Regions from separate parts of the Homo sapiens genome. Here regions 1, 2, 3, 4, 6 and 7 are each linked to region 5. The links are contacts of gene promoters, found by promoter capture Hi-C in blood cells and fetal thymus (Javierre and others, 2016). All regions are on one chromosome and are shown on one strand. The core of a region is centred on a gene start or on the middle of the fragment in contact, and the rest is flanking DNA. Distances in the headings are between cores, read along the strand shown.

Region 1 (2,700 bases), core at 86-2,585, 7.3 Mb after region 5:
TCCCAGCTACTCAAGAGGCTGAGGCAGGAGAATCGCTTGAACCTGGAGGCGGAGGTTGCAGTGAACTGAGATGGCACCACTGCACTCCAGCCTGGGCGACAGAGCGAGACTGTGTCTCAAAAAAAAAAAAAAGAAGTTATTGCCGTAGAGATGTCCTAGCTTCCAGGTAGGGTGCAGATGATTCCAGAATGCCTGTTTTGATTCCTGATAGTCTAACTGGAAACATAGTTCTAATTCTTTATTTTTTTACTCCATCTTATCCCAGGTGTGGTGGCTATGTAGAAAGGCAAAATTTCTGTTCATTGATAAAAAGGTTAAGGGTTAAAAGGAGTAGGCAGTGACTAGGAGCTTTATTTTAAGACCAGCATTCCCTGAATTGGCAGTTTCTTTGTCTCCACTGGTTCCATTATTGTCTGTGATGACTAGGGGTCATTTACAGAGGTAGGGTTTTTAAAAGGAGAGCCTTTCTGATGCCACTTTTCTGCTTGACAGGCCGGACAGTGGCTGTGGATTGGGCCGTGGCAAAGGATAAATATAAAGATACACAGTCTGTTTCTGCTATAGGTAAGATGTGGTAGTGTTGGGTGAGTAGGGGCGTTGTATAACCTGGGTGAGAGTATTGAAACAACTCCTGTGTTCATGATAAAAGTGTAAGAAAAAGGCTGGGTGCAGTGGCTCTTGCCTGTAATTCCAGCACTTTGGGTGGATTGCTTGCAGTCAGGAGTTTGAGACCAGCCTGGCCAACATGCAAAACCCCATCTCTACTAAAAATACAAAAATTAGCTGGGCTTGGTGGTGGGCGCCTGTCATCCCACCTGCTTGGGAGGCTGAGGCAGGTTCTTGAACCTGGGAGGCAGAGGTTGCAGTGAGCCGAGATCACCCCACTGCACTCCAGCCTGGGCAACAAAACGAGACTTCGTCTCAAAAAAAAAGTGTAAGAGAACCTGCTTATCAGAGTAAGACTATTGTGGAAGATTAACCAAAAGAATGAGACTGGGCTTTCAGGGAAAACTCTGAATTCCTGCTGGCTCAGAAGTGAGTCCAGGTCTGTTTGTCAATTCATATTGTACCATTTGGTGCTCTGGTCCCAAAACCTAGGCTCTTTTGAGTCTAAGCCCCTTCCTGGGAGTGGCTGTGAGTGAGCCTGAGTTCACTGTCCCCTTTACTTGCTGTTGTTTCCAGGCTGTGCATAATAGGAGTGATGGAACATTAAGAATAGAGAAACTTAAAACTTGAGGTTTATTTAGAAAACAATTGGCTGGTAAGCCACCAGGGTCTCAGAGAATAGAACGCACTGAGATTAAAGTTCATGGCTTGGCTTTGCCCCCTAGTGAGCATTTTGCTGGCTATGATGTACGAATGGTAGACTGCTTGGAGAGGCTCAGTTGCCACTTCTTTCAGTCTGGGCCAGATGAACCTTCAGACTGATGAATGGGACAAACTCTAAAGGAATCTGGGTGTTGAGAGTTTTGTTTATTTCTGTTTTTGCTTTTTCTTTTCTTTATACTTTCTCCTGTTATATGCAGTAAGAAAAATATACGAAATTCTGTAAAACCGATGAAACCAAGAACTTGGAGTATTGGTTACTTTTGTTAAAATAACATTGTTTTGGATATTAAATGAATTCCTCCTTTCTTTACCTCCCTCCATAGGTGAGGAAAAGAGCCATGAATCTAAACATCAGGAATCAGTTAAAAAGAAGGGCAGAGAGGAAGAGGATATGGAAGAGGAAGAAAACGATGATGATGACGATGATGATGATGAAGAAGATGGGGTTTTTGATGATGAAGATGAAGAGGAAGAGAATATAGAATCAAAGGTGACCAAGCCTGTGCAAATTCAGAAGAGGTAAGCAGCTCATCCTGTTCTGAGACAGCAGAGGAAGATTCAAGATTGTCTCCGAGAGGAAAAATTCTCCTTTTTCTGCCTGCATCATTGCAGAATTGACATGTGTAATGAAATTGAATAGGCCCTCTGTCAGCCCACCTCCTTAGTTCTGATCTGTGCCATTGCAGAGCAGTCAAGAGACCAGCCCCTGCAAAAAGCAGTGATCATTCTGAGGAGGACAGTGACCTAGAGGAAAGCGATAGTATTGATGATGGAGAGGAACTGGCTCAGAGTGATACCAGCACTGAGGAGCAAGAGGATAAAGGTTTGTTTGGATTTTCATAAATGTCTTTAGACTTTAAAAAAGTTACTGAAGTTACGGAAATGAGCATCAGTTCTGCTTAGATCTCTTTTTAAATAGGACTCTAAGGTGTTCTATCAAATTTATGTTTAAATGCTGAAAAGGAAACCTTTATACTCCTTTCTTCCAAAGGTTTTTTTGTTGTTTCCTTTTTGTTTGTTTTGTTTTTTAAGTGAGTTTTGGAGTGGTGTTTGAGGGTTAAGATTCTTAGGGAATTGAAAACCTAGCTTAATGCTGAGGTTCTACCTCTCTCTGGATTGTCCAACTTGATAGAATAACCAGGTAAACAGCATCTTATACAGATAATATAGATGAAACAGATGATATAACCATCTCAACATCAAGCTAGATTTTAAACAACTCCTTGGAGTTGAGATGGGGATAAAGAACTGTTTAGTCAGTTTGGACTGACATAACAAAATACCATAAACTGGGTGGCTTAAACAGCAGAAACTTATTTTCTCACAGCTCTAGAGGCTAGAAGTCCCAGGTGCCAGCTGATTCATTTTGGG
Region 2 (2,700 bases), core at 1-2,500, 6.1 Mb before region 5:
AAAAATCAATTTTTAAAAAATATTATCTAGCCGGGCACGGTGGCTCACGCCTGTAATCCCAGCACTTTGGGAGGCTGAAGTGGGCAGATCACGAGGTCAGGAGTTCGAGACCAGCCTGGCCAATATGGTGAAACCCCATCTCTACTACAAATACAAAAATTAGCTGGGCGTGGTGGCGCGTGCCTGTAGTCCCAGCTACTCAGGAGGCTGAGGCAGGAGAATCGCTTGAACCCGGGAGGCGAAGGTTGCAGTGAGCCAGGATCGTGTCACTGTACTCTAGCCGGGGCAACAGAGTGAGACGCTGTCTCAAAAAAAAAAAAAAAAAAAAAAAATCTAATTTGGGCATATCTCAGAAGTTCATAAACACAGAAACATTAATATAGTAAAATTTAGTTTATTGCCATGTATTTATTTTAAAAAGCTTTCTTAGTATTTATGTCCATAAAAGCAAACAAAAGCACAAAATTCACAATGTCTAATTTTAGCAATTTACTCAAGAAGTGAAAAAAGCACCATCTATCTCATTTAAAGACATATTTCCAATATAATTTAAATACATTAAAATTGTTTTGATCAATTAGGTACTAAAAACAACTTTAATGATAAGTCAATTGAGAAGAATTTGTCATAGAATTCTTTTAAATATTTTAAAGTTTCTTTTATGCATGCATTTTTGTTACAAACAGGGTAATAAAAAGTTCTTAACTATACCATATACTATTAAGATACACTTCTGAGGGGAAAATAAAAACAGTAAAACAAGTTCAAAGAAAAAAGAATAATGGAAAATTTCCAAATGCTGAACTGGTATTTTTTTACAGGATAGTAGGTATCACATTGCTATGCTATTTAGATTCCATTGATACATTTAAAAATAACACAATTTTGTATTGAAAAAAATTTCTTAATGTCGCTTGCAGACATCCAGAGGGGTATATTATTTTCAAAATTCTTATAGCATTTTCAAAAGTTTAAAAACTCTTTCCTAAGGGATATCTTCTTAATCTTCTTTAACCTTTACGTGTACATCTTTTCTATGTTGTACTGTATTTTGTTTAAAGAGAATATTAGGCCGGGCATAATGGCTCATGCCTGTAATTCCAGTATTTGGGGAGGCTAAGGTGGGAGGATCATTTGAGCCCAGCAGTTTGAGACCAGCCTGGGCAACATGGTGAAACCTCATCTCTACAAAAAAATTGACAAATTAGCCAGGCATGATGGTGTACACCTGTTGTCCCAGCTACTTGGGAGAAGGCTGAGGTGGGAAGATCACCTGAGCCTGGGGAGGTAGAGGCTGCAGTAAGCTGTGATCACACCATTGCACTCCAGCCTGGTTGACAGAGGGAGACCCTGTCTCAAAACAAAAACAAAAAAAGAGAAAATTAAAAACTTCTTGGCTGGGCACAGTGGCTCATGCCTGTAATCTCACAACTTTGGGAGGCCGAGGTGGATGGATCACCTGAGGTCAGGAGTTCAAGACCAGCCTGACCAACATGGTGAAACCCCGCCTCTACGAAAATTACAAAAATTAGCCAGGTGGTGTGGCACGCACCTATAATCCTAGCTACTCAGGAGGCTGAGGCAGGAGAATCACTTGAATCCAGGAGACAGAGGTTGCAATGAGCCGAGATTGTGCCATTGCACTCCAGCCTGGGTGACAGAGTGAGATTCTGGCTCAAAAAAAATAAAATTAAAAAAATCTTAATTTCAAATAGAAATTTCACATACTAAGTACCAAAGAGGTTCCGAATAAATCTGCACACTCACATTAGTGTAATTCTTATCTTGGCATACGCTTCTTCCTGGTTAGGGCTAGATCCTTCCAAAAGACAATACATTCAGAGTTTTTGTAATTCTCAACAATAAGTACTGGGATGGATAATTCAGTTTTAGGCTTTATTCAAAAGTTACTTGTGACTAAAACTGTAAGTATAAAAATAATTTTTTAAAGGAAGGGATAAATGTACAAACTCTTAGCAAGTAGAGAAATAAGAGTTATGGACATCTTCTAGTGAGTTGCCTTAACTCATAAGTACTGGTACTCTTAACCCTAGTTAGTTACAGTGTAGCCAAGCTTTTAAAAAAGAAAAGGAGAAAAAGAAAAAAACAGCTATTTTCACAAGCTTCTTACCAGCTATGATTGTTGTTGCTTGTCGCCTCACATTATTTTTATCCATGTATTCACCATAGTCTATTTTCCCTTCCAAATAAATTCGAGACCTGATATAAATAAAATGTACAGTTTTTAGTTGAGATCTTAATATGCTTTATAAGAGTCAGGTCAGGGTGGTACTGAGTATATGACAAGGATGAAATATATAATCATATATAAGCTAATTTTTGCTACCACTTCTCAAGGTTCAGGATTAGGAGTACTGAAACAGAGTGTCCAAACAGACTTGGTAACATCTAGGTAAAACAGACAATGTTTTCATCTGTCAGCTATTTCTCTTACGGAAGTTAAAAAATAAAACAAAACAGTTCAAAGGGAAATTTAGTGGCAACATTTAAATCTCTAGGAATAATTTCCAATGTATCATTTTCCTTGACCTTTGATTTTGGAGTCCCTAACAGACTTGATTTTCACTTATTTATCAATTATTTTCTATGACCTTAGAAACTTAGATGATTAAAATTCAAAATATGGATTTGTAGTTAGTTTAGTATAATATTACCCTGAGTTAATTACTAAGACTATTT
Region 3 (2,700 bases), core at 159-2,658, 5.9 Mb before region 5:
CCCTTCCTACTTCCAGTTGTCTTGCCTTTGTTTCAAGTTGTCCCACCTTTCCAGACCAAAACCAATGTTCATCTTACGTATATTGATTGATGTGTCATATCTCCCTAAAATGTATAAAACCAAGCTGCGCTCAGACCACCTTGGGCACGTGTCATCAGAACTTCCTGAGGCTGTGTCGCAGGCGCACGTCCTTAACTTTGGCAAAATAAACTTACTAAATTGACTAAGACCTGTCTCAGATTTTGGGGGTTCACACTACTAACTTGGGAAAGGACTTCTCTTTCTCTAAGATGTCTTAATCTCTTCCACTATAAATATAATGAATAAAAATAGCTTCCTTTCTGATGTCTCTACTTTATTCTCTAACCACTGGATATAAGTATGCATGTAGTTCCAGCTCTGGTTACAAGAAGTCTTTGTTTTTGCTTTGAATAGCATTTATTTTTCTTTTACACCACATGTTTTATAGGGATAAGCACAGCTGAGCAAGATTTTAACCTGAGGCCCTTTGGGGCTGTTTTGCTGCAGATGCAAAGGTGGGATGGGGCTGTCAGATAGTTACCAGTGTTTTCCATAGAGCCAATGGCCTCCCCAGGTCAGCAGGCAGAGCCCAGCTGTAGTTTTCTTCCAGTGATTTCGAAGCGTTTTAAAGAACACCGTCATCTTCTAGAGATTTGCTAGGTTAGTAGAGGCGGAAAGAGAAAAAAATATAATTTATCCATGGTCTTCATGTAATGTCCCTATTACTCTGTCTTCCATTCTTTTATCCTCTCTCACTCCTTTTTTTCCCACTCACTCCTCTTCCTCCTTACCACTTCTCCTCTGGCCTCAGCTCATCTTCTCCCTTCTATTTCCATCATCTTCATCTTCTCATCCACCCACACATCCATCCACCTTTCTTTCTTCCTTCACGTATTTCCACCTAACCTATACTTCTTCCCTCTCTGATCACTATTTCTTCATTGCAATAGAAGGAAGAGGGAGGGGCAGAAAGAGAGGAAGGGAATTCCAGGCTTCCTCTGGTTTTTCTAACTCCTTACAGCCTCACTGTACCACTGTTTAAGAGTATACATTTGTCTATCCATCATAATGTAAGTGTCCCAAAAAATAATAATATGAAGGGCGAGTTCAAAATAGAAGAAAATACCAGGTCCTCAATAGGAAAAGAAACAGAAAACATGGATAGAAAACTCAATGAAGAGGCAATGTACATGGCTATCTAAAAATGTTCAACTTCCTGAATAATCAGACATGCATATTACAAAGAACTATCATTATTGACCAAAATAAATTTTTAAATGATCATATTCACTGATGACATAACAAAATGATAGACACTCATACACTCCTTTAAAGAAGGTAAATTAGGAAGACTTTACTAAAAAACAGAGTGACACTATAGAATATCTTTATTCTTCATGACATTTATTATTTGGTGATGCTTATATTCATTTGCTCATTTATTAGCCTAATCCTACTGGAATGTAAACTCCATGAGAGTAAGGACATAATTCTGGTCACTGCTGTATCCCATGCCTAAAGTAAGATCCGGCACACAATAGCTGTTTAAGAAATATTTGTTCAATGAATAAGTTAAATAGCAATTAAATATTTTTTTACCCAAAATTTTTACTGATGGGGGAAAAAACCCAAAACATAATGTTAAGTAAAATTAGCAGGATAAAAAGCCATATATAATTGGCATTATACCAATTATGTTCAAACATGAGTATAAATTTAAAAAGAAAACCAATACAATTAAACAAAAACAATTTTTTTTTTTTTTTTTTTAGACAGGGTCTCACTCTGTCACCTAGGATGGAGTCCAGTGGCACAATCATAGCTCACTATAACTTCTGGGCCCAAACAAATCTCCTGCCTCAGCCTCCCAAGTAGCTGGGACCACAGGCACATACCACTACACTTGGCTAATTTTTTTCTTTCCTTTTTTTGTTAGAGACAAGGTCTCACTATGTTGCCCAGGCTGGTCTCAAACTCCTGGCCTCAAGCAATCCTCCCGCCTTGGCCATCCAAATTGCTGGGATTACAGACGTGAGCCACTGCACCTGGCTCAAAAACGAAATTTTAAAGTAGATCCCTCTAGGTTGTGGAATGGTGGGTGATGTTTATTTTTAAAATTGCAATGTACTTTCTAAGTTTTTGAAAATGAACTTATTTTCTAGATAAACAAAAATTTAAGCAAAATTTTTTTATGACTATCTGTTAGTGAGGTATATAGACCAAGAAAAAAAAAACTGTTTCCACTTAAAAGTCCAGTTCTTTTATGACTCCCTTTAAATCCCATTGGTTAAAATTCCTCTCAAGGGTAGAAACATCCTTATCAAAAGCAGCAGTGAAGCCAGTGCCAGGGAGACCATCTTCCTGTGAATCCCATACACCGTCAGGCTGACACATGATTCCAAAGGCCCAACTAATTCTTGAACTCCTCTCCATCTGGCCCTAAATCACTCCTTCATTCAAGAGCCCTTTAATAAACACCTATATGGTAGGCTCTGTGCTGGGGGTGAGGGCAGAGAAGAATGGGTCTCATGCGTTCTCTCAAGTGCTCACAACTGTCAAACCCACAATGCTAACACAATTATACAATTATGATTGCAGTACAGTGGGATAAATGTCGAGGAGTCAGCACAAGGCTTTGTGAGAGTCTGCAAGAATGAACCTAACCTGGTCTAGGGCTGA
Region 4 (2,700 bases), core at 90-2,589, 5.4 Mb before region 5:
GCAAGTCGGTCAGAAAGACCACACGGCACACGCATCGCCATTGCTTCAGAGCTTTTGGAGGCAGGTCTGTAGCCATTCCCACCAAAACATACTACCGAACCGTGCATGCCCTTCCAGGAGAGCCAGACCTTTCTAACTCTCCCCAGCCCACCACCTCCCCGGGTCCTCCGCACAGGCGGCGGCGCTAGCCTTACTGCGCAGGCGCCAGGTACACCTCGGAGGCCTCAGGAGGGGGAGCCAGTAACTCCGGGTCGTTCACTAGGGCTCCGCTCTAGCTGCCAAGCTTCCGTTTCTCTACTGCTCCCCGTAATAGTTGCCTGCGCGAGCTTGGAGCCGGGTAGAGGGCGGGCCTTCCGGGACGAGGGCGCGTGGGTGAGGAAGGTCAGGTCTAGGTAAGGCTGTCGGTGACTTTGGGGGTCTGCAGCAAGGGGCGATGGCTGCGAAGTCTACGGGGGTCTCCAACCTTGTAGAGTCGCCAGGAATAGGGCGAATCCACTTCATTAGTGACCAGCTCGGGCGGTTCACGTGCATCACACAAATAACTTGGCCTTTTTCTGCCTCAGTTGGGGGATTTCTTAAACGTAGAATACCCGCGTTTCCGCTGCCGTAATTTCCTCTCAGGCGCAATTACTCTCTTCCATATTGGTTAACAGTAGAAGGCTCAGTTTCTCTGCTCATCACACGGCCTTCGGCACTGTAGCTTTGGGTGGTGGGCTGCAGATTAATTTTGTAACCACCTTAAGAAAAATACGGTAAGGTGATATTTAAGAAAAATATTTGCGAAATGCGCTCCCGAGTCAAACATCGGTTGACTTGACAATACTACAGTTTCCATCACAGTCAGGCATGATCGAGTCAGGTGGAGGGAGTTGAAGATTGTTCTTGATGAACTGAATGCAGCTAATACATTTTCAGTGCCGTTGATGCCTCTATGACTCCGTAAAATAATCGGTACCGGGTTTTTTTGTTTTTAAGCATTCTGTTGAGATTGTTTTTATGTTTAGATTGTTTCTATGACAACGTGTGTACACTGTATGTGAATTCCTTGGATCCTGATGGTTATTAGGGTGGGCACTGTGCCGTGAATTTTGCATATTAGCTTCACATCGCAGATAGTATGACTGTCCTCGTGTAGTCGATGAGAGAACCTGGCAGAGAATAAGCACCATTACAAAAACGACGTGGCCATTAAAAGGCAGAGGCGAGATTCCAACCAGCTTTTTTATTCTGCAGCTGGTGCGTTCTGCTAACCAATGGTTTTTGGGAAACTGGAGAAAGCTCTCTCCCAGAACAATTTACACACACACATACATACACATATCGGCATACAGATGTACACTTCCACTGTTTTCAAAACGCTGAAGCACATCCCGGTTAAGAACTCTTGCACTTCATCTTTACCTTTCAAAGAGAAAAGGCAAACCTAATACAAAGCCACTTATTGAAATAATCTTTTAAATGCATCAGACCTATCAAAAAGATCAAAGAAGTTTGCCCTGTTATGCCAAAGTAAAAATATGGGAATTTTCTTCTCATGTGGGCTTAATTTGTTTTGCTCAGCACATTTGAGTAATTTGTTTTTGCTTAGCATTTTCAGCTCCAGTTAACTTTTTTCATGAGAGTACAGTTTTCTTTAGTTCACATTTAAAGAAAGGTAACACTTAAAGTGACTTGTACTCCCCGAGAATGGTTTCATGTGAATCAAAATGTAATTGACATGCACGTTGTAAGAAAAGCTCCCGTGTTATTCTTCGTGAGAGACATGTGTCTGTGCACTGTGGAAGGAAACAACAAAGCAGTGTCATTGGTAATTGTTAAAACCACTTTCAGTTTCCTCCTGTTTAGCAAGTGGGCCTTTGTTTCTAGTAAGGGATTCAGGTTTGAAAAGGCTTATTCCCTTTCTCTGTCATAAAACTTTAGGACTTGGATTTTATGATATAACCATGTTCCAGCCTATTCTAGTGTGACCTTTTTACTTACAAGTTATGTATCCCAGTAATTTGCCACATTCCAAAATGGGCATGGACATAACAGCAGCATCCTGTGATGGCTTCAGTGACTACTGTCCTACTGAGTCCCTTCCTCCTCCTGGCTATCTTGTCAAGTTATCAAGGTGCTGGTCCTCTCCCTATGTTTCTCTGGCTGTCAGTCTTTGTAAATGAGGTCATCATTCCAGGGAGGCACAAAGTTTTTACTATATGGAGTATCTATCTGTCTGTCTCTCTCTCTTTTTTTTTTTTTCTTAAACATGATTAAGAACAAGGAATAAACAAATGTGTCTATGTAGAATATATGAAAACCAAACTTACAGATCTGGGCTCGTTCTTTTTTGTAAGTTACCATTTACTACTCAGTGCCACTGTTACTCATTTTCGCACTAGTCATGCAAGCTTTGTTTTCAGAAAAGGAGACTCAGAGAAGATGAGTAACTGTTCACAATAACCCAAGGATTAAGTGACAGAGCCAGTAGTCAAACCTAGGCCTCAGGAATCCCTGTTGCCTCTTCATTGACAAATAAAGGGACTTGGAATTCAGAACAGATTTTCCTGAAAACACTGTAACAAACTGATAGTTCCCATACCAGCTTACAGATAACTAACTGTGGAAATACTGTGCAATTACAGCAGAAATATATTCTGATGCCACAATGGTAATTAAGCAAACAAAGCAAAGTTGATGAAGCAACTATTGTTTTTTAAT
Region 5 (2,700 bases), core at 70-2,569:
CTCTACTAAAAATACAAAAATTAACTGGGCCTGCTGGCGCGCACCAGCTACTCGGGAGGCTGAGGCAGGAGAATCGCTTAAACCCAGGAAGCGGAGGCTGCAGTGAGCCGAGATCGCACTACTGCACTCCAGCCTGGCGACAGAGCGGGACTCCGTTAAAACAAACAACAAAAAAAGATACAGCATTTGAGCCGGGAGCAGTGGCTCACGCCTGTAATCCCAGCACTTTCGTAGGCTGAGGTGGGTTGATCACTTGAGGTCAGGAGTTCGAGACCAGCCTGGCCAACTTGGTGAAACCCGTCTCTACTAAAAATACAAAAATTAGCTGAGCATCCTGGTGCGCGCCTGTAATCCCAGCTACTCCGGAGGCCGAGGAGGGAGAATCGGTTGAACCCGGGAGGCGGAGGTTCCAGTGAGCCCAGATTGCGCCACTGCACTCCAGCCTGACGACACAGCGAGACTCCGTCTCAAAAAAAATAAAAAATAAAAAAAAATAGAGGTTGAAAGCATCAAGTTTTGAATGCACAATAGCTTGGCAGAAAAACTTTCACTTGAAAATTTGATGAGCAACTCCTGGAACCTTCACCAAGCAATTTTTGAAATATACCGAGTTTTGCCAGAAAACTCGTTTTTAACTCAAATAAGGAGCCAAGAGAAATAGTCTGCTTACTCATGCTTACACATTTTGGGAAAAATTACTTGTATACCAGTGTCTGACTCATTCCTCCAACTCTGAAAGGTCTGATGAGGACTTAGCCTCTCGGACTTCGTGAGGTGGCTAATTTACGGTTTATTCCTGGCCTTCCTACCTCCTCAGAAAAGCCAACTAGCAGGGCTCCACAGCAGGGACCGGCCGGCGACCATGTAATGGAACAGGAGCGCAGAAAGAAAGGGGGGCGGACTACGAAAAGTCATCAAGGACCACACAAGCTTTAATACAAAGATTGCACAATGAGCGCGGGGCGCGGCACACAATAAGAAGCTCTGGAAACGCACACTCTCTGACACCTCAAAGTTTTAGGGACTTGGATGGCTGCAGAAAAATATTGGCAAAGGGATTTTCTGGGGAGGCAGGAAGAAAACGGCCGCCCTGCGAGGCGACGACCAGGCGCGGGGGACGAAGGGACCGCTGGACCCACGCCCAGGCCGGGTCGGCGGGGTCGGCAATCCTCAAGGGGGAAATGGGGTCCGAGGCACGCCCCAGGCAGCGGGCCCCGCTCTTCGGCAGCTCCACTCACCAGGAACTGGAGCATGATGTCGGTGGGGAGGGCGAGGAGGGCGCGAAGGACTGCAGCAGCTCCGCGGGCCGGTCCGAGCCTACCTCCCCATGCGCGGGGGGGGCGGAACCCCTCGTCGACTTCCGGGTCACGCCACGCCCCGCCCCGCTCCTCCCACTCAGCCCGCGCCCGGAAACGACTTGCAGTGTCGCAGCGCCCAGGTTCCCCCTGGCGGAGCGCGTTGGCCTCACCGCCTGAACCGGCGGGGCAGCGAGCGCGCGACAGGACTTGCGAAGAGCAAGTCCCGAGCCTGGCTGGGCATCCTTGAGCATCCCGCCTCTGTAAACCTGGGCCGAGGCCCAGGAATCTATATTATTCTCAGCACGCGGACTATTCTGATACACAGCCCAGTTTAGGGCTCTCTAACCTAGAAGGACGGCATGAGCAGCGGGTCCCATCCCTAGGTTCGCAGCTGAATCGTGGGGGCTTTTGCAGCATCCTCTACTTGGGCCCAGCTGGACTTTGCGGGGAGGAAAGGAGGCTTGTAGCTCTCAAAGCTCCGCAGGTGTGCTGTGTAATCAGCGTTGTGTAATCAGGTGTTGTGTAATCAAGGTAGAGGCTGGGTACCGTATGGGGCCCATGCTGCCGTGTGCCGCACGCCAGTCACTGAGATGATGAGTTTTGTAGCAGAGAAAAGGTTTATTCACCAGGCAGCCAGCCGAGGAGACGGGAGAACAGATCTCAAATCTGCCTCCCCAAAGATGGGTTTTAGGGATATTTATGGGATAGAGGAGCAGGGTGGTCTGAGGTGTGGGGAAAGGCGGTTGAAGGTAAGGAAAAGTTTGGCAATGGGTTATCTGCGCGAGGTAGTCAAGCTTCATGGCTCTTTATAGGATACATGGTCACAAAATGACATCCTTAGCATGATCTGAGTGTGGAGGTTTTGGCCCTCTAATGTCAGAAGGACACCCATCGGGCTTTCATGCAGGCCCAGTTGAGAGGTTGGTGGTTTAAACTGTACAAGAACTGACCCCAACTTCCTGAAAAACAAGAAACCTTTATCAAGCAACCCAGATGTCAGAGATGTTATCCATAAGGAAGATAGTGGGAGCTTAGATATATATTGTTTAGCTCTGTGACTTTAGCTATGTGGGTTTTTTAATCCACTAAAAGCAGGTGACTAAAAACAAGTGAGAGAAGTTGCATTTGGCAGGCCTCATCAGGTTGGCTCTCAGTTTCACTGGCCTAGCTGGGTTTCTTGCCTGGGATGGCCATAGGTCCTGTTGACAATTTGTATCATCGCCACAAAGAGTCTGTTCTGTCAGTCTTCCGGTCTGTGTATGTGTGTGTTTTTTTCTCTCTTTCTCTTTTAAAGAATTTATTTTAAGCCTATTATACCACACAGTATGTTTTAAACACTAACTCCCTAATAAGATATATAACTCCCTAATAAGATAAAGCAAAGACAAAAAAAGTTCATCTT
Region 6 (2,700 bases), core at 138-2,637, 8.1 Mb after region 5:
AAGGTGCTGTCGGTATCCCACGAGGCAGATGTGGGCCTCGCAGGTGTCCAGCTTCCAGGCCTCACCTTTCCTGACTCTGTGGATGACCGGTGCTCCACTCACAGCGAGGATAGCACTGGGACCGCCACTAGCTTGGATACTGCGGCCAGTCTCACCAGCACCAAGGGTGAGTTTGGGGTAGAAGATGACAGACCGGCCCGTGGACCACCACCTCCAAAGTCCGAAGAGGCCAGTTGGTCCGAGAGTGGCGTTAGCAGTAGCAGTGGGGATGGGCCATTTGCAGGTGGGGAGGTGGACAAAAGACTGCACCAGCTGAAGACTCAGTTGGCTACTTTGACCAGTTCTTTGGCTACAGTCACTCAGGAGAAGTCCCGCATGGAGGCTTCTTACTTGGCTGACAAGAAAAAGATGAAACAGGACTTAGAGGATGCCAGTAACAAGGCGGAGGAGGAGAGGGCCCGCCTGGAGGGAGAATTGAAGGGGCTGCAGGAGCAAATAGCAGAAACCAAAGCCCGGCTTATCACGCAGCAGCATGATCGGGCCCAAGAGCAGAGTGACCATGCCTTGATGCTGCGTGAGCTCCAGAAGCTGCTGCAGGAGGAGAGGACCCAGCGCCAGGACTTGGAGCTTAGGTTAGAAGAGACCCGAGAAGCCTTGGCAGGACGAGCATATGCAGCTGAACAGATGGAAGGATTTGAACTGCAGACCAAGCAGCTGACCCGTGAGGTGGAGGAGCTGAAAAGTGAACTGCAGGCCATTCGAGATGAGAAGAATCAGCCAGATCCCCGGCTGCAAGAACTTCAGGAAGAGGCTGCCCGCCTTAAGAGCCATTTCCAGGCTCAGTTACAGCAGGAAATGAGAAAGGTAATTATCCATATCTCTTTCAAACATCAGCCATTGACCTGAAGTGAGAAATATTAGGGTTTTTTTCCTCCTTTGCTAGTTAGAGCTAAGTGTCTATACTGTCATTTTTGATGCCACCTGAGAAGTTCCACTAGTGAACCTGGGAAGTCCTGTTCTATGCGGTGTTGACATATGTGCTTCCAGGAGGATGTGGAGCTTCTCAGTGTAGGCTGGGTTGAAGCCAGACAGCTCTGCACTTCTGGGCATTGGCATCTTACCAGCTGTGCTCTATGAAGCAGTATAGTGGCAGCTGTATAGTAAAAGGTAGCGTGTCTTCTGTTGGTATGTGCCTCTAGGAAGAGTGGCCGAAGGCAAAGGGGATTTTCTCAGAAGTAACCTCTTGTCATTGCCTTTACTCAAGATGTGCCTGTTCTGGAGAAGTGCTATTTTCCAGAACAGGTATTGAAAGGGTGCCTCCTTTCAATGTGGAGAGGGAGATCCAGCGCAGTTTTGAACTTCCAGGAATATTGGATAAGGAAAAGAATGCTGTATGATTTCTTAATAGGATTTGAGGAAGCACCTGAGAAACAACAGTAACACACATTATATGTGGTTAGGTGGAAAGCAGAACAATAGCAGATGTACCAAGGTGCTTCATATTGTTCAGTATAATATGTGTCTTGCAGAATCCAAGCAGGTAATAGGAACTTTTGTTAGCTCCTGAATCAACCGAAAAATCCCTAGTTAGCATTCTTGCCAGGCCATCCCAAACCTGTGACCCTTTTGCTCCCCTCTCCTGCTTTCTCAGAGTTTGCTGTGGGGCTTTTGTGGATGCATTTTTGTCTGTTCCCTTGTTTTGCAGACAGCTCTTGCAGAGGATCAACTCCGTCAGCAATCTCAGGTAGAAGAACAGAGGGTGGCAGCCCTGGAGAATCAAATATCCGAGGTGTCTGAGCTGCTAGGCACCTACGAGAAAGCCAAGCAGAAGGACCAGCTGGCCATTCAGAAGCTGAAGGAGCGCATTCTGCAGCTGGACCTGGAGAACAAGACACTGGCTCTAGCAGCCTCCAGCAGGTCCCCTTTAGACAGCCATGGAGAGGAGTCCAGTCTGGATGTCAATGTCCTGAAAGATAAGATGGAGAAGCTGAAGAGGCTGCTGCAGGTTGCGGCCAGGAAAAGCCAGGTGACCCTGGATGTGGAGAAGCTCTGTGACCTGGAGATAATGCCCAGCTCGGAGGCTGCTGATGGGGAGAAGGCTACTGCACTCTATTACCAACAGGAGCTGAAACAGCTGAAGGAAGAGTTTGAGAGGTACAAGATGAGAGCCCAGGTTGTCCTCAAAAGCAAGAATACCAAAGATGGTAACCTGGGAAAGGAGCTGGAGGCAGCCCAGGAACAGCTTGCAGAGCTGAAGGAGAAGTATATTTCCCTGCGGCTCTCCTGCGAGGAGCTGGAGCACCAACACCAGCAGGAGGCTGATGACTGGAAGCAGGAGCTGGCCCGGCTGCAGCAGCTCCACCGGCAGGAGCTGGAGCGGTGCCAGCTGGACTTCAGGGACCGCACACTGAAACTGGAGGAGGAGCTGCACAAGCAGCGGGATCGTGCCCTAGCTGTGCTCACCGAGAAGGACTTGGAACTGGAGCAACTGCGTTCTGTGGCCTTGGCCTCTGGGCTGCCAGGACGCAGAAGTCCTGTGGGTGGTGGCGGTCCTGGGGACCCAGCTGACACATCATCCTCTGATAGCCTGACCCAAGCATTACAACTTGCAGCGGCCAATGAGCCCACTTTCTTTCTGTACGCTGAGCAACTGGCCCGCAAGGAGGTGGAGATCACATCACTGAGGAAGCAGAAGCACAG
Region 7 (2,700 bases), core at 15-2,514, 8.0 Mb after region 5:
GATATTTGCTGTTGCAGATACAAATGTCAGAACTGCAGTATGAAACGACATCTAGAAGTTTACAGTCATCATAAACCAGAAAATTGGTAAAACCAAGAAATGTCAGGTTCCAAGATTTGGAAGGGTTTTGGGGAGGACAACTGGGGGCAAGTGATAAACTGAATTTATATTATCAAATTATCATGGAGCTAGGAGTAAATTGTAAAAATAAACTTTGCAGGTTCAAATTCAAAATTGAAGAATTTTCAAAAAGTTGAGGGTATATAAAATCAGGCAGAATCTATAGTGCTATGAGCACTAGACCAGGAATCCGAACACTTGGGCTCTTGCTATGGCTCCAACCCAAACCACCATGTGACCTTAAGCAAGTCACTTGCCTTCTTCAAGCCTATCTCCTTATCTTTAAGGGACGGGAGAACAATGATGATTACTAAGATTCTTGCCGGCCTAACCTTTTAGAAGTCAAAAGTACACAAAGATCAGGAGCTTTCAGGTCGACACAAGAGGTGGAGGGAAAGAGAGGAAAAGAGGGCCACAGAGTGAGAAAACTTGGGAGTCAAGTAACAGCGTTTGTGGGAACAGAAAAGTTTCATGATGGCCAAGTACTAGTAGAGAAGAGCCGATGTCAGGATCTCGAAAAACTACTAACTACTCAGCATATGTCAAAATGAACAGAAAGACGGGGGATGGGAGGACAGATATCAACGAATTGTCTCTGTTAATCAATCAGTAATCGATCTGTCCTGGTAAACAGACAGGAGATCCGAATGCCGCAACCTCGGAAATCACTGTGACCCCTGATGTCAAGGTGTCCGGGAGGCAAGGAACAAGGGGACTCCGTGTCTGCTTCCGTCTAGTGAGAGGATTCGGAGAATCGACGAAAAGTGAGGAAGGGGGCAGAGGAAAGGGGATCTGGGACATGGAGCAGGCTGGCGGAAGGTGGAGTCAATGCCTGACTCCCGCCCGAAGGCAGGCAGAGGGGTCGGTGTCCGGGGCCCGTTCTCACCATCTTGATGATGCCCCGCTGCACGGTGGGGACCGCGGGTCCCCCGGAGGAGCCGCCGCTCTGCGCGGAGGACGCCATGTGTGGAGATGCAAAGGCAACGAGTGGAGCGGCTGGCCGGACTGGAGGTGTCAATGTGGGTGTCGGTGTTGGTGAAAGGGAGTCGAGGCGAGGGGCAGGCTGGCTACCAGCTGCGGACGGTGGACGGGACGGACTCGCCGGGCGCTCACAGGAGCAGCAGCGGGACACGGAGCGAAAGAGACGCGATCTCCGCCGCCGCCACACGTTCTACTCGCCGCGCAAGCGTGCCAGAGCGCCACCGCCCTCCGCCCAATTAGCGCCCAGAGCCCGCCGGCCCTCAGGCCAATAGGCACCCTGCTCGCGGAGCCCCGCCTCTTGGTCCCCAAAACGGTGGTGAGTTCCAGGAAGCGCTGAAAGAGTTGATTTGCAAGGATGGGCTAAATATGGGGCGGGACTTCCGGGGCAGCCGGAGTAGGTAATGTCGGGAGGTGTAGTGGGAAGGAAAGGACACGTCAGCATCTGGCCGCGGGGCGCGGGGGGCCATGGGAGCCCCAGGGGCGGAGCCAGCCGCGCCCTCCCGCCTGACCTCGCCCATGACGTCCTTCCCCGCTGGCCTCAGGGGCGCACACTTGTATACCCACCTAGGTGGGCGCCGCTGTACCCGGGAATGCGGCCTGGGAGGGTGGAGCCACGCAGGCAGAGTCCTGGAGGAATCTCCGTACCCGCTCCACTCGACTTCCGACATTTTACCTTGGCTAAAAGTATGGAGAGAACTTGGAAAATCAGAGCTTTGTGGAACCTCCTACCGATGTGGGCTTTGACCTGCCACGCGGCCGCGCGCCCTTTTTGTAGTCAGAGAGTGTGCCTCGCCCTTGTTTGTGTCGCTGGGGTCTAGCACTTGTGAGGCGTTCCATTAATGTTTGTTGGTGGGAGGAATAAATGTCTCAGAGGAAGGACATGCCACGTATACAGGGGAGAGTGACCCTCGTTCTTCGGTCTCTTCCCAGCTGCTCCCGTGACGTTAGGGAAAAGGCTCGCTTCACGCTCTCACCCGACCCAGTGTGAAGCGCCTCCAGCCACCGGATACCTTCCCTAGCCCCAGTAAAAAGGTCGGGGAAGGAACGGGAAAGCCAAGGCCTACAAATATTTAAGTGACTGTTTAGCGAGAACTAATATTCGTTGAGTGCCCACTATGTGGAACCAAGGACCTTGCATGTGTTATGTCATTTAATCGTAAAACTTGGCTCTACACTGAAGACAGTACTTCCCTTGCAGTTCTTTTTGTTTCTTTGGTTTTGTGGCTTTTTTGAGACAAAGTCTCGCTCTGTCGCTCAGGCTGGAGTGCGGGGGCACGATCACGGCTCACTGCAGCCTTGACACTCCCAGGCTCAAGCGATCCTCCTGCCTCAGTCTCCGGTGTAGCTGGAGCTGGTACCACGGGTCCGCGCTACCACGCCCAGCTAATTTTTTTTTTGTAGAGCTGAGATTTCACTATGTTGCCCAGGCTGGTCTCCTGGGCTCAAGCTATACTCCTACCTCGGCCTCCTAAAGTGCTGGTATTACATGCATTAACCACAGTGCATGGCCCCTTGCTCTCTTAAAAGATTGTAAGTTTATTCTCCCACACTAAACATATCCCAGGGTTAAGTTTTGAGGTCACCTTCTTAGATCCCTAA

The links. Contacts are between HindIII fragments. The CHiCAGO score rates a contact against its expected background, and 5 or more counts as called.
Region 1: a fragment that was not itself captured here is called in contact with the fragment with the promoter of STMP1 in region 5 in 1 of 17 cell types (total B cells); the score reaches 5.8 in total B cells.
Region 2: a contact is called between a fragment that was not itself captured here and the fragment with the promoter of STMP1 in region 5, in 4 of 17 cell types (total CD4 T cells, non-activated CD4 T cells, total B cells and 1 more). The highest score is 11.4, in total CD4 T cells.
Region 3: a fragment that was not itself captured here is called in contact with the fragment with the promoter of STMP1 in region 5 in 3 of 17 cell types (naive CD4 T cells, total CD8 T cells and total B cells); the score reaches 9.3 in naive CD4 T cells.
Region 4: a fragment that was not itself captured here is called in contact with the fragment with the promoter of STMP1 in region 5 in 1 of 17 cell types (fetal thymus); the score reaches 13.7 in fetal thymus.
Region 6: a fragment that was not itself captured here is called in contact with the fragment with the promoter of STMP1 in region 5 in 2 of 17 cell types (naive CD4 T cells and fetal thymus); the score reaches 8.4 in naive CD4 T cells.
Region 7: the fragment with the promoter of SND1 here is called in contact with the fragment with the promoter of STMP1 in region 5 in 2 of 17 cell types (total CD4 T cells and non-activated CD4 T cells); the score reaches 7.2 in total CD4 T cells.

What each region holds. Positions count from the first base shown.
Region 1 is chr7:128,334,995-128,337,694 of GRCh38, reverse strand. It overlaps RBM28 (RNA binding motif protein 28), which reads left to right. Exons shown (of 19, transcript NM_018077.3): 6 at 493-564; 7 at 1,653-1,848; 8 at 2,016-2,152. Among named protein-coding and RNA genes, the nearest start is that of RBM28, 7.6 kb to the left of the region's middle. The HindIII fragment of the contact is 3,765 bases long and covers 1-2,700 here.
Region 2 is chr7:141,745,016-141,747,715 of GRCh38, reverse strand. It overlaps SSBP1 (single stranded DNA binding protein 1), which reads right to left. Exons shown (of 7, transcript NM_003143.3): 6 at 2,132-2,220. Among named protein-coding and RNA genes, the nearest start is that of SSBP1, 8.0 kb to the right of the region's middle. RefSeq lists a silencer at 164-306. The HindIII fragment of the contact is 1,653 bases long and covers 424-2,076 here.
Region 3 is chr7:141,553,430-141,556,129 of GRCh38, reverse strand. It overlaps AGK (acylglycerol kinase), which reads right to left. Exons shown (of 16, transcript NM_018238.4): 2 at 563-677. The coding sequence starts at 663. Among named protein-coding and RNA genes, the nearest start is that of AGK, 3.4 kb to the right of the region's middle. The HindIII fragment of the contact is 5,219 bases long and covers 1-2,700 here.
Region 4 is chr7:141,012,603-141,015,302 of GRCh38, reverse strand. MRPS33 (mitochondrial ribosomal protein S33) reads left to right here and starts at 351. Exons shown (of 3, transcript NM_053035.3): 1 at 351-392. RefSeq lists enhancers at 1-22, 543-592, 55-700, 1,843-1,912 and a silencer at 170-478. The HindIII fragment of the contact is 2,107 bases long and covers 286-2,392 here.
Region 5 is chr7:135,661,133-135,663,832 of GRCh38, reverse strand. STMP1 (short transmembrane mitochondrial protein 1) reads right to left here and starts at 1,319. Exons shown (of 3, transcript NM_001130929.2): 1 at 1,239-1,319. The coding sequence starts at 1,253. RefSeq lists enhancers at 1-60, 61-585 and a silencer at 1,225-1,444. The HindIII fragment of the contact is 1,162 bases long and covers 933-2,094 here.
Region 6 is chr7:127,582,315-127,585,014 of GRCh38, reverse strand. It overlaps GCC1 (GRIP and coiled-coil domain containing 1), which reads left to right. Exons shown (of 2, transcript NM_024523.6): 1 at 1-864; 2 at 1,706-2,700. The region is part of intron 1 of LOC105375490 (a long non-coding RNA gene); the gene reads left to right. Among named protein-coding and RNA genes, the nearest start is that of GCC1, 1.9 kb to the left of the region's middle. RefSeq lists enhancers at 1-70, 71-1,071, 790-1,989. The HindIII fragment of the contact is 4,362 bases long and covers 1-2,700 here.
Region 7 is chr7:127,650,758-127,653,457 of GRCh38, reverse strand. SND1 (staphylococcal nuclease and tudor domain containing 1) reads right to left here and starts at 1,264. Exons shown (of 24, transcript NM_014390.4): 1 at 1,007-1,264. The coding sequence starts at 1,084. SND1-DT (SND1 divergent transcript) reads left to right here and starts at 1,626. Exons shown (of 2, transcript NR_186577.1): 1 at 1,626-1,785. RefSeq lists enhancers at 1,046-1,225, 1,050-1,668 and a silencer at 1,466-1,715. The HindIII fragment of the contact is 9,151 bases long and covers 1-2,700 here.